2 separate regions of the Homo sapiens genome follow, and region 2 is linked to region 1. Evidence: promoter capture Hi-C in 16 types of primary human blood cells and fetal thymus (Javierre and others, 2016). All regions are on one chromosome and are shown on one strand. The core of a region is centred on a gene start or on the middle of the fragment in contact, and the rest is flanking DNA. Distances in the headings are between cores, read along the strand shown.

The links. The method cuts DNA at HindIII sites, captures the fragments that hold promoters and counts their contacts. A CHiCAGO score of 5 or more calls a contact.
Region 2: a fragment that was not itself captured here is called in contact with the fragment with the promoter of ZYG11A in region 1 in 1 of 17 cell types (naive B cells); the score reaches 5.0 in naive B cells.

Annotation. Positions count from the first base shown.
Region 1 is chr1:52,839,095-52,845,259 of GRCh38, forward strand. ZYG11A (zyg-11 family member A, cell cycle regulator) reads left to right here and starts at 3,666. Exons shown (of 14, transcript NM_001004339.3): 1 at 3,666-3,879. The coding sequence starts at 3,790. RefSeq lists a silencer at 3,416-3,745 and an enhancer at 4,247-4,840. The HindIII fragment of the contact is 4,430 bases long and covers 3,287-6,165 here.
Region 2 is chr1:52,428,536-52,435,019 of GRCh38, forward strand. It overlaps TUT4 (terminal uridylyl transferase 4), which reads right to left. Exons shown (of 30, transcript NM_001009881.3): 28 at 2,478-2,925. Among named protein-coding and RNA genes, the nearest start is that of PRPF38A, 27 kb to the left of the region's middle. The HindIII fragment of the contact is 1,649 bases long and covers 3,707-5,355 here.

The sequences.
Region 1 (6,165 bases), core at 2,416-4,915:
TAGAGATGGAGTTTCATCATGTTGGCCAGGCTGGTTTTGAACTCCTGACCTCAGGTGATCCACCCACCTCAGCCTCCCGAAGTGCAGGGATTACAGGCATGAGCCACTGCGCCCAGCCGATTTTATTTATTTATTTTTTTTGAGACACAGTTTCCTTTTTGTCACCCAAGCTGGAGTGCAATGGCACAATCTCGGCTCACTGCAATCTCCACCTCCCAGGTTCAAGTTATTCTCTTGCTTTAGCCTCCCAAGTAGCTGGGATTACAGGCGCCTGCCACCCCGCTTGGCTAATTTTTGTATTTTTAGTAGAGAGAGAGTTTCATCATGTTGGTCAGGCTGGTCTCGAACTCCTGACCTCAAGTGATCCATCCACCTCGGCCTCCCACAGTGCCGGGATTACAGGAGTGAGCCACCACGCCTGGCCAATAACAATAATTTTAAAAGCAAAACCGCTCTGTAGGTTATTTGCCCACAAGCAGCACTTGGCTCCTGGCCTTAAAAATGCCAGGAGAAGACTGACAATCAGGCCACCGCTTTGTGCCCATGACAGAAACGGCAAAGCCTATTTTTTTTTTTTTTTTTTTTTTTGAGACGGAGTCTCACTCTGTCGCCCAGGCTGGAGTGCAGTGGCGGGATCTCGGCTCACTGCAAGCTCCGCCTCCCGGGTTCACGCCATTCTCCTGCCTCAGCCTCCCAAGTAGCTGGGACTACAGGCGCCCGCCACTACGCCCGGCTAATTTTTTGTATTTTTAGTAGAGACGGGGTTTCACCGTTTTAGCCGGGATGGTCTCGATCTCCTGACCTCGTGATCCGCCCGCCTCGGCCTCCCAAAGTGCTGGGATTACAGGCGTGAGCCACCGCGCCCGGCCCTATTTTTTTATTTTTATTTATTTTTTAAGAAAGAGAGTCTCACTCTGTCGCCAGGCTGGAGTGCAGTGGCGTCATCTCGGCTCACTGCAACTTCCGCCTCCTGCGTTCAAGGAATTCTCCTGCCTCAGCCTCCCGAGCAGCTGGGACTACAGGCGCACACCACCATGCCCAGCTAATTTTTGTGTTTTTAGTAGAAACGGGGTTTCTCCATGTTGGTCAGGCTGGTCTCAAACCCCGACTTCAGGTGATTCACTTGCCTTGGCCTCCCAAAATGTTGGGATTACGGTGTGAGCCACTGCACCCAGCCACTTTTATTTACTTATTTTTACTTTTTGCAACAAAGTCTCGCTTTGTCACCGGGGCTGGAGTGCAATGGCGCAATCTAAATTTACTGCAACCTCTGCCTCCTGGGTTCAAGCAAATCTGGCTCAGCCTCCCAAGTAGCTGGGATTACAGGGATGCGCCACCATGCCCAGGTAATTTTTTTGTGTATTTTTAGTAGAGATTGGGTTTCACTATGTTGGCCAGGCTGGTCTTGAACTCCTGACTTCAGGCGATCCACCCATCTCGGCCTCCCATAGTGCTGGGATTACAGGCATGAGCCACCGTGCCTGGCCTCATGTGTTACGTTTTAAATTAATTGGTTTAATAATAAGAGCTTAAATAAAATATTTTGTCAGAAAAGTGAAAAACATAATGCCTTTTATTTAGTTCATGTGACTTGGGTAATCTTTGGGAAATAAAGATGGGTTTAAAGATTATTGATAAAATACAAATGTCTTCAAAATGTAAACATGTGGTCAAAATTATGTTCAAATATTAGGTTTGCTAAATGCTTTAAGGTCATAAACTGCTTCCTTGGCTTTTGAAAATTGTTTAACTTGCCTGTTTTCTAGCTCGGTAAGGCCTGGGACATATGCAGTTGGCCACACCTCTAGATATGCTGGAAATAGTCAAACCTTATGAGAACATAACTTACCAGGTTCTATATTAAAGTTAAAATTGCTGAAATTCACACTTCAGCTGTAATAGGAAATATCCTCTCCATTGGGCAAAAGCCGAGGAAATGACTGTAACTTTCCTTCATCCTCGTCATTTACATAGGGCATACCCCAAGTAGAGGGTATTTAAACTCCCAAAAATTCTGTAACGGGGTCTTTGAGCCCCAGTGCTCGGGCCCACTCCCACATTGTGGCATTGTGGAGTGTACTTTCATTTTCAATAAATCCCTTCATTCCTTCCTTGTTTGTGCGTTTTGTCCAATTCTTTGTTCAAGACACCAAGAACATGAACACCCTCCACCGTTAACAAAAGCATATTGGCGGGGGCACGGTGGCTCACGCCTGTAATCCCAACATTTTGAGACGCCGAGGCGTGCGGATCACCAGGTCAGGAGATCTAGACCATCCTGGCCAACATGGTGAAACGCTGTCTCTACTAAAAATACAAAAATTAGCCGGGTGTGGTGGCGCGCGCCTGGAGTCCCAGCTGCTTGGGAGGCTGAGGCAGGAGAATCACTTGAACCCAGGAGGCGGAGGTTGCTGTGAGCTGAGATCGCGTCACTGCACTCCAGCCTGGGCAACAGAGCGAGACTCCGTCTAAAAAAAAAAAAAAAAAAAAAGCATATTGATTGGACTTGCAGTAAGAAAACTCAATTTTGACTCCCAGGTTGGCCACTCATCAGCTGGCCAAAAAACGTGTTGTCTATTCAACCTGTCAGTTCTTCAGTTTCCCTGTGAGAAAAATGGGGATGATACCTACAGCACAGGATTTTTTTTCTTCTTGTAGTAAGTGGATTAAATAAAAGAATAAATAAATGAAAGAAAAGCATTAGGCAAAGTACTTAAAAATAATTTTAACATCTGAATCCAATCCACTTATCAAGGACTTACTATGTAAAAAGCATTGTGATGTGTTTTACATACATTATTTAATCCTTACATTAAGTCTGTGAGATAAAGCATTCTCATTCTATTTTACTGATGAGGAAGTTGAGCTTCAGAGACATCAAGAATCTTGCTCCAGGTTCTCAAACACTAGATGGCTGAGCGGGCATTCTAATTCAGGATTCAAACTCCAAGGCTCATGCTCTTGAGAACTTTCCTTTTCCAAGGTATTGCTTTCTCTTAAATTAGCTAATGTGTACTAACTTGTGGAGTTTCTTTCCTGGAGAAAGTTAGAAGGGTCTCTCGGGGTTTCTTTCTTGGAGCAGGTTATAAGGGTCTTCTCGAGTACTTTTTAAGTAACAAGAAAGCTAAATAGATTTTTTGGTAGATACTTGCCAATATTTTGTATTCGTTTTATATTTGATTTATCCAGATACTCTAAGGAGTTGAAACAGAGAGGACCGTTAGAGAGGTGCTGTTGCCAGATTTTCAGGGGCAAAGTCTTTGAAATATATATTTTAATGTATGAAAGCTTTAAAAAATATATACATATATAGAAATAATGAATATGTGTGTGTGTGTGTGTGTGTGTGTGTGTGTGTGTGTGTGTACATGTATATATATATACAGTATTCCCCAAACCTACACAGCCGGTCCTCGGGGAATATCCTCTCAAGCCCTGAGGTGCAGGGCTGGGAAGGAGTGGGTGAGCGGCTGGGTCGTGGCAGGTTGGTCTGGGGAGGCTGGGGAGGCTGGGGAGGCGGGAGGAGAACGGTTGGCCCCGGCAGCGGCGTGTCGGAGGGCGGATGGGGCTAGGAGGCCGCCCGGGGGGTGGGGTCTGCGGCGGGCCGGCCCCCGCGTGCGCGTCGCCTCGCCGGGCATTTCAAAAGCTCGCCGGCAGGGCGCGGCGCTAGCTCCGTGTGCCTCGCAGGCGTGGTGGGCGCGTCCTGGCAGCCGCCCGCTTGGTTCTCGCGGGATCCGGGCTCCGGCTCGACGCCGGCTCTCTTTTTGACGCCCCGCCGCCGGGGTTGCCATGGTTCATTTCTTGCACCCGGGCCACACGCCCCGGAACATCGTCCCTCCTGACGCTCAGAAGGATGCCCTGGGCTGCTGCGTGGTACAGGTGAGCACCGGGGTGCGGGCGGCGACGCGGACCTCGGCGCCACGTCCAGCTCCGGCGAGCGCGGCGAGTCTCCTGGGACGCTGCCGAGGCACTTGCTGGGGAGTGTGGCCCGCGCGGGGCTGCGGTCTAGATGCCGAGCCCCTTCCAGGCGCAGGCGTCGCTGCGGAGGTGCGTTGTCGGGGGAGGCGGCCTGGGCGCCGCGGAGCGGGGGGTGCTTTTCTGCGCCCGGCGAAGCGCGTGGAACTTGCGCCCTGAGGCAGCGCGGCGAGAGCCCAGTCCCAGAGACCGGGGCGAGCCTCCTCAGGATTCCTCGCCCCAGTGCGGGCTGCTGTGAGCTTAGACGTAGGTGCAGGGCATGGCACTCGGCTTGGCCCGTAGTGGACGGTGTTTTTGCAGTCATGAACCCAAACGCCGCAAACCTTGACCGTTTCCCCACCCGTGTTGTGGACGCAGCGCCCCGCGGAGGCGGTGACCCTTTGGCCGTTACCACCTGAGGCCTTTGGGCCCGGGGCCGGGCGAGTAGCTTAGTCCGGCTGGGGGAACTGGAACCCGAAGTCTGAGATTCTTTCAGTTCCGCGCGTCCGCCCCCGTCCCCGTCCCGTCCCCAGCCTTTGCCGAATGCCTGTTACTCTTAGCTCTGGACAAAATGCAAACCCAAAGAATGTGTGTTTAGCGCCTGCTGTGTGTTAAGTGTCGCCTTTCTTTTCTTTCTTTCTTTTTTTTTTTTTTTTTGAGACGGAGTCTCGCTCTGTCACCAGGCTGGAGTGCAGTGGCGCGATCTGGGCCCACTGCAACCTCCGCCTCCGGGGTTCAAGCGATTCTTCTGCCTCAGCCTCCCGAGTAGGTGGGACTACAGGCGCGTGCCACCATGCCCGACTCATTTTTTGTATTTTTAGTAGAGACGGGGTTTCACCATGTTGGCCAGGATGGTTTCGAACTCCAGACCTCGTGATCTACCCGCCTCGGCCTCCCAGAGTGCTGGGATTACAGGCGTCAGCCACCGTGCCCGGCCAAGTGTCGCCTTTCTAAAGCAGTCTGGTAACCCCTAGTCTTTTGTAGGCTTTGCTAGGCTCCATTTTACCGATGTAGGGAAGTTGGGAGCTCTGAAATTTAGTTGACTTGCTCGTGAACTTGAATTTCACCTCAGGTGTTCAGACCTCTGGCCCCACTTTGGAAAAAACCCGCCAAGGGCCACCCTTGGGGAACTCGAGGGATTGAGTGGTGAAGGCTCGACCCAAAATTTATGGAGAGAAGGAAATGTTCTGATTAAGGTTGTGCTTTACATATTAACGCCTTGTTGGAAGACTTTGTGCCCTGCAGTGATCTAGCCTGTAATCTTTTGAACTCATTTAGAAAAGTTATATAATTTGTGGATTTGTAATTAATGGAAAACTTGGATTTTTTACGTGTGTGCTAGCATCGTCTCAAGCACATTTTTTCCTGCTTGGAATCGAAACAAGATTTCTTTACAAAAGTACTCACACCCATTTTCTCTGTCTAGTTCTGGGTATATCTCATTTTCTTTGTTAAGGATTTTATTTATTTTTAATTAATTATTTTAATTACACAAATATTGCATGAATACTTTTTTCCCTATGAAACATACATACAATTATTTCCATTTATGTCATTTTAATCTTCTCTTAGCAATGTTTTGTAGTTTTTAATATAAAAGTCTTTTCACATTTTGTTAAATTTGTTCCTGTTCTTGATACTATTGTAAATACTTTTTTTTTTTGAGACGGAGTCTCCCAAAGTGCTGGGATTACAGGCATGAGCCACCGTGCCCGGCCAGCAAATATTTTTTAAAACTTTATATTACCTTGTGTATATATAAGAATACATAAAATTGATTTTTGTATATTGATCTTGTATCCTACAGCCTGGCCAAAGTCACTTAGTTTTCTTTATTTTTTTGTAAATTTTTAAAGATTTTCTACACAGTCATATTATTTTCTTTTTATCCTTTTAATTTTTTATTTTTAATTAAGACGGTGGTTTCCCTATTGTCCAGGCTGGTCTTTGAACTCCGGCTCAAGCAATCCTCTTGCCTTGGCCTCCCATATCTTTTCAATTTTTTGCTTCATGAATTTTGAAGCTATTAGTAAGTTCGTATGCATTTAGGAATGTTAATTCTGCTTGATGAATTGGCCCTTTTATCATTAAGAAATGTCCATCTTGATCTCTAGCAATATTCTTGTCCAGAAGCCTCATTTTTTCTGACAGTGTAGTCACTCCAGTTTCCTTGTGTCTAGTGTTTAACAACTGTATGTTTTAAATTGTGTC
Region 2 (6,484 bases), core at 3,281-5,780, 410 kb before region 1:
GAATCGCTTGAACCCAGGAAGCGGAGGTTGCAGTGAGCTGAGATCGTGCCACTGCACTCCAGCCTGGGTGACAAAGCAAGACTCCCTCTAAAAAAAAAAAAAAAAAAAAAAAAATTCCGGGCATGGTGGTGCGCACCTGTAGTCTCAGCTATTCGGGAGGCAGGAGAATCACTTGAACTCAGAAGGCGGAGGTTGCAGTGAGCCGAGATTGTTCCACTGCACTCCAGCCTGGCAACAGAGCGAGACTGTCTCAAAAAACTATATACTTTTTTAGATAAACAGGAAAAACTGAACAAGGACTGGGTATTAGATGATACTAGGTATGGCAATGATCTCATGTTTTTTTTAAGTGACACAACTGAAGTTAAAAAGCAAATTTGATGCAATGTCTGAGATTTGATCAGTCAAGTCAAAAATATTTTTAATGGCTAGGAATCCGATAAAAGAATAGCAAATTATTGATAACTGTTAAAGTTGGTTAATGGGGAGGGGGGTTCATTATATACTTTACTGTCTTTTGTGTATGTTTCAAAATTTCCATAATAGGTTTTTTTTTTTTTTTTTTTGAGATGGAGTCTCGCTCTGTCGCCCAGGCTGGAGTGCAGTGGCACGATCTCGGCTCACTGCAAGTTCTGCCTCCCGGGTTCACACCATCCTCCTGCCTCAGCCTCCCGAGTAGCTGGGACTACAGGCGCCCACCACCACGCTCAGCTGATTTTTTGTATTTTTTAAGTAGAGACGGGGTTTCACCGTGTTAGCCAGGATGTGCTTGATCTCCTGACCTTGTGATCCACCCGCCTCAGCCTCCCAAAGTGCTAATAGTTCTTAAGATAAAAATAATTATCACTAAAAAGTTGGGCATAAGTCAGGCACAGTGGTGTGTGCCTGTAGTCCCACAGCTACTCAGGAGGCTAAGGCAGGAGGAGCACTTGAGCCCAGGAGTTCAAGGTTGTAGTATGCTAGATTGGCCTGTGAATAGCCACTGCACTCCAACCTGGACAACACTTTGAGACTTTGTCTAAATATATATATATATATACTTTTTTTTAATTTTATTTATTTATTTATTTTTTTTTGAGAGAGTCTCACTCTGTTGCCCAGGCTGGAATGCAATGGCATGATCTCAACTCACTGCAACCTCTCTTTCCCTGGGTTCAAGCGATTCTCCTGCCTCAGCCTCCTGAGTAGCTGGGATTACAGGCATGCATCACCACACCCGGCTAATTTTTGTATTTTTAATAGAGACAAGAGTTTTGCCATGCTGGCCAGCCTGGTCTTAAACTCCTGGCCTCAACTGATCTGCCCACCTCAGCCTTCCAAAGTTCTGGGATTACAGGTGTAAGCCACAGTGCCGGCCTGTGTATGTTTAAGTGTGTATAAATATTTATATGTATGTGTGTATATATGTGTGTGTGTGTGTGTCTATGTATTTTAAAGCTGGATGTAAAACTAGATTTATAGCATGTATCAACTATTTTCTTAAATATGCAGTTTTTTTTTAATGACTGAATAGTAATACACCAAAATATTCCTTAGTATTTATGTCTAGGAATTGAGATGATAGATGATTTATTTCTCAAATACTCTATAATGAACATTTATTACTTAGATATCAGAAAAAAAACTATTTTTCTTTTTTAAAGAATTGTTCCTGAGAAAAAATAGTGTCTAGGGCATGCAGCAGCACGGTTTTGAACAAAGAAATTCGTTTAACTCTTGGACCTACCATCATTAATTTTTTTGGTTTCCTTGATCTTTTTTTTGTTTGAGACAGTTCTGCTCTGTCGCCCTGGCTGGAGTGCAATGGCGCAATCTCGGCTCACTGCAACCTCCACCTCCTGGGTTCAAGCGAGCCTCCTGCCTCAGCCTCCCACATAGTTGGGATTACAGGCGTGCACCACCACACCCAGCTAATTTTTGTATTTTTAGTAGAGATGGGGTTTCACCATGTTGGCCAGGCTGGTCTCGAACTCCTGACTTCAGGTGATCCACCTGCCTCCGCCTCCCAAAGTGCTGGGATTACAGGCATGAGCCACCATGCCCGGCCAACCTACCATTATTAACCATGACAGTAAGACAGTGAAGTTACTTAACTCTTCAATTTCATCAACTGTGTAATAAATAATACACCAAACTGAGTGGCAGTGAAAATTTTTTAAAATACTAAAATAATAGCTAACATTTATGTGTGTTACACCTCATTTAACATTTACAACATCCCTGTGAGTTAGATGGCCTATTTTACAGATGAAACCAATGCACAAAGAGATTAACTGCCCAAGCTACATAATAAATGGCAGGGCCAGGATTCAAATCCAGGCAGTCTGAGTCCAGAGCCCATATTCTTAATCTTTATCTAATCCTGTACTGTCCCCTCCACAAATACTGCTTTCCTTCTTTTTCCTCACATTGTTTCTACAGACAGATACAAAAGAAGAAAAGACATGCAGATAAAAAAGAAGAAAAGGAAAGGTTACCTGAATTCCCCACTGCACCACTGTTTACCAGGGAATTTGGAGCCACAGTACGGGGCCAGTGTCCATCGTGAGACGTGTTAGGGATTGCCACAGGTCTGGCAGCAGGCTGTGCAAAGATGATGCTGGGATCATTTAGGCCAATATTGCTGGGGGCACTGCCTGGTGCAGAGTGGATCACTGGGCCATGGATGGGCCAGGACGGGGCAGGGATCTGGAGAGGGTGCATTGGCAACAATCCCATATTGTGCATGGGAGAATACTGAGCTGGTGGTGACTGGGGAAAGTTATACAGTGGCATCTGGACCTGATGGGGAGGTTGGGCTCCCTGCTGAGGTGGGCCAAGCTTAGGTTGGGATCCTGGCTGAGATGAAGGCTGAGTAATAGCAGCTGACTGGGAAGAGTTCTGTGGAAATGGCTGAGGCTGAGGAGAATAAGATGGTGATTCAGACTGCAGACAAAAAAAAAATTTTTTTTAATTAATTTATAAACATCTTAATTTTATAAAAGTAGAGATAAAATACAAAATTAAAAACTTTATAAAACAGAACTCTATGATGTATATCATAACAAATAATTAGTTTTTCCCAAGGTACTCAAACCCCCTTTTCAAGTAGGTATTGCCTCACAAATCGTTTTATTGTCCAAAGAAACGAGAGCCCAGACATGGTTCCCATCGTGCAGAACACATACTTCCTATTGCAAACTCAAAACTTCCATCTAAATATCTCATAGTCACTTTCATTCAGTCCCTCAACAAGTATTTATTGTGTCAATTATGTACTAAGTATTGTTCTAGGTAATAAAAATGTAATACCAACATGTATGCCCTCATGGAGCTCAACGTTTAAGGGGGATAAGGAAGGGAGCAGACAAAGATTACATAAGCAATCATAATAAGTATAATGAGTACTATGATAAAGAATGTACAGTGTACAGCTGTCCCTCAGGATATGCAGGGGATTGGTTCCAGGACCCCCACAATCCTGTACTCAAGTCCCACAGTCAGCTCTACAGAACCCATATATACAAAAAGTTGGATCTCTGAATACTTGGGTTTTGCATCCTGGGAATACTGTACTTTCCAACCACAATCTGTTGGAAAAAATTCATGTATAAGTAGACTCACGCAGTTCAAACCTGTTTTGTTCAAGGGTCAACTACATAATGAAATCCCAGAGCAGGAACACCTAAAGTCACTTTGGGAGAAGGAGAGAAGAGAAATCAGGGAAAGCTTCCTAGAAAAAGTGATCTTTTAGCTGAGACTCAGGGTAAACAGAAATCAGTCTGATACAAGAAGGGAGAGATAAGGGGAGAGGAAGAGTGTTCAATATGATTGAAGGTCTAGAGGTATGAAAACACATGGCTTTTTAAAGTAATTGGAATCTGAAAGAAGTTTAATATTACTGGAGTATATATAATGGCAGGGGAATGGCCGAGGCTGAAGAGCTAAATAGGGGCAAGACAATGAAGTGTCTTATAAGCCTTGTAATTTAGACTATATCCTAAATGCAGTGGTAAACCACTGAAGGGTTTTAAACAGGTATGGAACATGATCAATCTGAACTTTAGAAAGATTATCCTGGTTTAATAAGAATAAAATAGAGAATTTTTTTAAAGGCTGATGAGAGACAGGAACAGTGGCTCAAGACTGTAATCCTAGCACTTTCAAAGGCTGAGGCAGGCAGATCACTTGAGCTCAGGAGTTTGAGACCTGCCTGGGCAACATGTCGAAATCCCATCTTTACAAGAAATACAAAAATTAGCCAAGTGTGGTGGTGCATGCCTGGAGTCCCAGCTACTCTGGAGGCTGACATGGGAGAATCACCCGAGCCTGGGAGGTCAAGACTGCAGTGAGCCATGATTGTGCCACTGCACTCCAGCCTGGGCAACAGAGCAAGACGCTGTCTCAAAAATGAATGAATAAATAGATAAGTAAAAATTAAAAGGCTGTTGAGACTGATTAGGAGACTGCTAAAAGGCTGTTGAGACTGATTAGGAGATGATAGTAGCCTAGGCTAAGGAAACACAAACAGGGATAGAGGGAAGCAAATGGCTGTGAGATACTTTTTTTTTTTTGAGACAGTCTCGCTGTGTTGCCCACGCTGGAGTGCGGTGGTGCAATCTCGGCACATTGCAATCTCCGCCTCCTGGGTTCGAGTGATTCTCCTGCCTCAGTCTCCCAACTAGCTGGGATGACAGGTTCCCTGCCACCACATCCAGCTAATTTTTTGTAGTTTTAGCAGAGATGGGGTTTTACCATGTTGGTCAGGCTGGTCTCAAACTCCCGACCTCAGGTGATCCACCCACCTCAGCCTCCTAAAGTGCTGGGATTACAGGAGTGAGGCAAACACCTAGCTTTTTTTAAGGCAGAAACAACAGGACTTAGTGACTGAACATAGAGGTTGAAGGAGAGGGAAAAGTTTTGGAAACTAGATAGAAAATGGGATCATTCAACGAGATATAAAACACAGGAGGAAGAGGCAAGTCCTGGGGGTTGAAAGGAAAGATTAACTATATTTTAGGCATGTTGACGTGCTTTGTTAGACATCAGAATAGCAATGTCCATTAGACAGACTCTTTCCGAAAGCACGGGTGAGAGAAAAGTGAGGACTAGTAGCATAAAATGAAAATTAGGGCAGCATAGAAAAGTGGTTAGAGCATAAGTTTTGCTGACAGAGAGCCTGAGGGTTCGCGTTCTGATTCCAAGTGTCTATTGACCTCAGGCAAGAAACTGAAACCTCGGTTTCTTTACCTATAAAATATAATCAGAATTTGCCTCAGGTTTTTGAGAAGATTAACTGAACAATGCATGTGGAACATATAACCACCAAGTTCAAGATAGCAGATACATTTCTGTAGCAAGGGAAGGATGGTAGGAAGCTTTTAAGATAGGAATGGGATCAAAGAAGAATGTACAGGGTGTTCAACTGAGGGTGATTTTTTAATAAAGCTAAAATAACAATGTTAAAAACTGTTAAAGCCTGGTAATGATACATAGAGATTTATTTTCTATACTTTTCTGTACTTTTGAAATATTTTATAATCACAAAGAATGAATGCATGTACAGCACATAGTTTACACTCAACAAATGTTAACTACATTAAATGTGATTATTGTTGTTTATGAAAGTATCAAGCACATAATAGGTATTCAAGTGTTTGAGGTGAGGGTGGAAAATTTCCTAAATGTTTTCCAAAGATTCTCCCTAATACTCTTCAAATACTTGAATGTTTTTTCTAAAACACAAATCACATTAGATTTAGCATGTTAAACGGTTAATGGATTTGATGCTAGAAAGACTTCGGTTTGATTTTTATACTCTCTTATTCTCAGTTTCCCAATTTGTAAAATTTGATGATACTAATACCTACCACTTCACATGGCCACTCCAAGGATTAAATTTGCTAAGTGTAAAGCACTGAATATTATGTCAGATTTAGAGTGTTATTTAGAGTCATTATTAATTAAGAAGTACAAGGTGAATATAGATTTACACAAAGGTTAAGAGCAACTCAACAAACAATATTAAACTTATGAGTCTGGGCTGGGCGCAATGGCTCACACCTGTAATCCCAGCACTGTGGGGAGCCAAGGCAGGTGGATCACCTGAGGTCAGGAGTTCAAGACTAGCCCGACCAATATGGTGAAACCCAGTCTATACTAAAAATACAAAAATTAGCTGGGCGTGATAGTATTGCCTGCAGTTCAGCTACTCAGGAGATGGAGACAGAATTGCATGATCCCAGGGGTGTGGATTGTAGGGTTGCAGTGAGCCGAGAACACGCCACTGCACTCCAGCCTAGGCAATGGAGTGAGACTCCATCTTAAAAAAAAAGAAAAGATAGTAAAATAAACTTATGAGTCTGAATTCTCATTCAATACTGTTTTTTTACAGGGTGTATTTCACTAGGTATCCACAGGTCAAGCTATGAGAAGACAGAAGTTTCATGCAAGCAAAATGCCATGTATATATTGCCCTAACAACACTAAATGCCTAAAACATCTC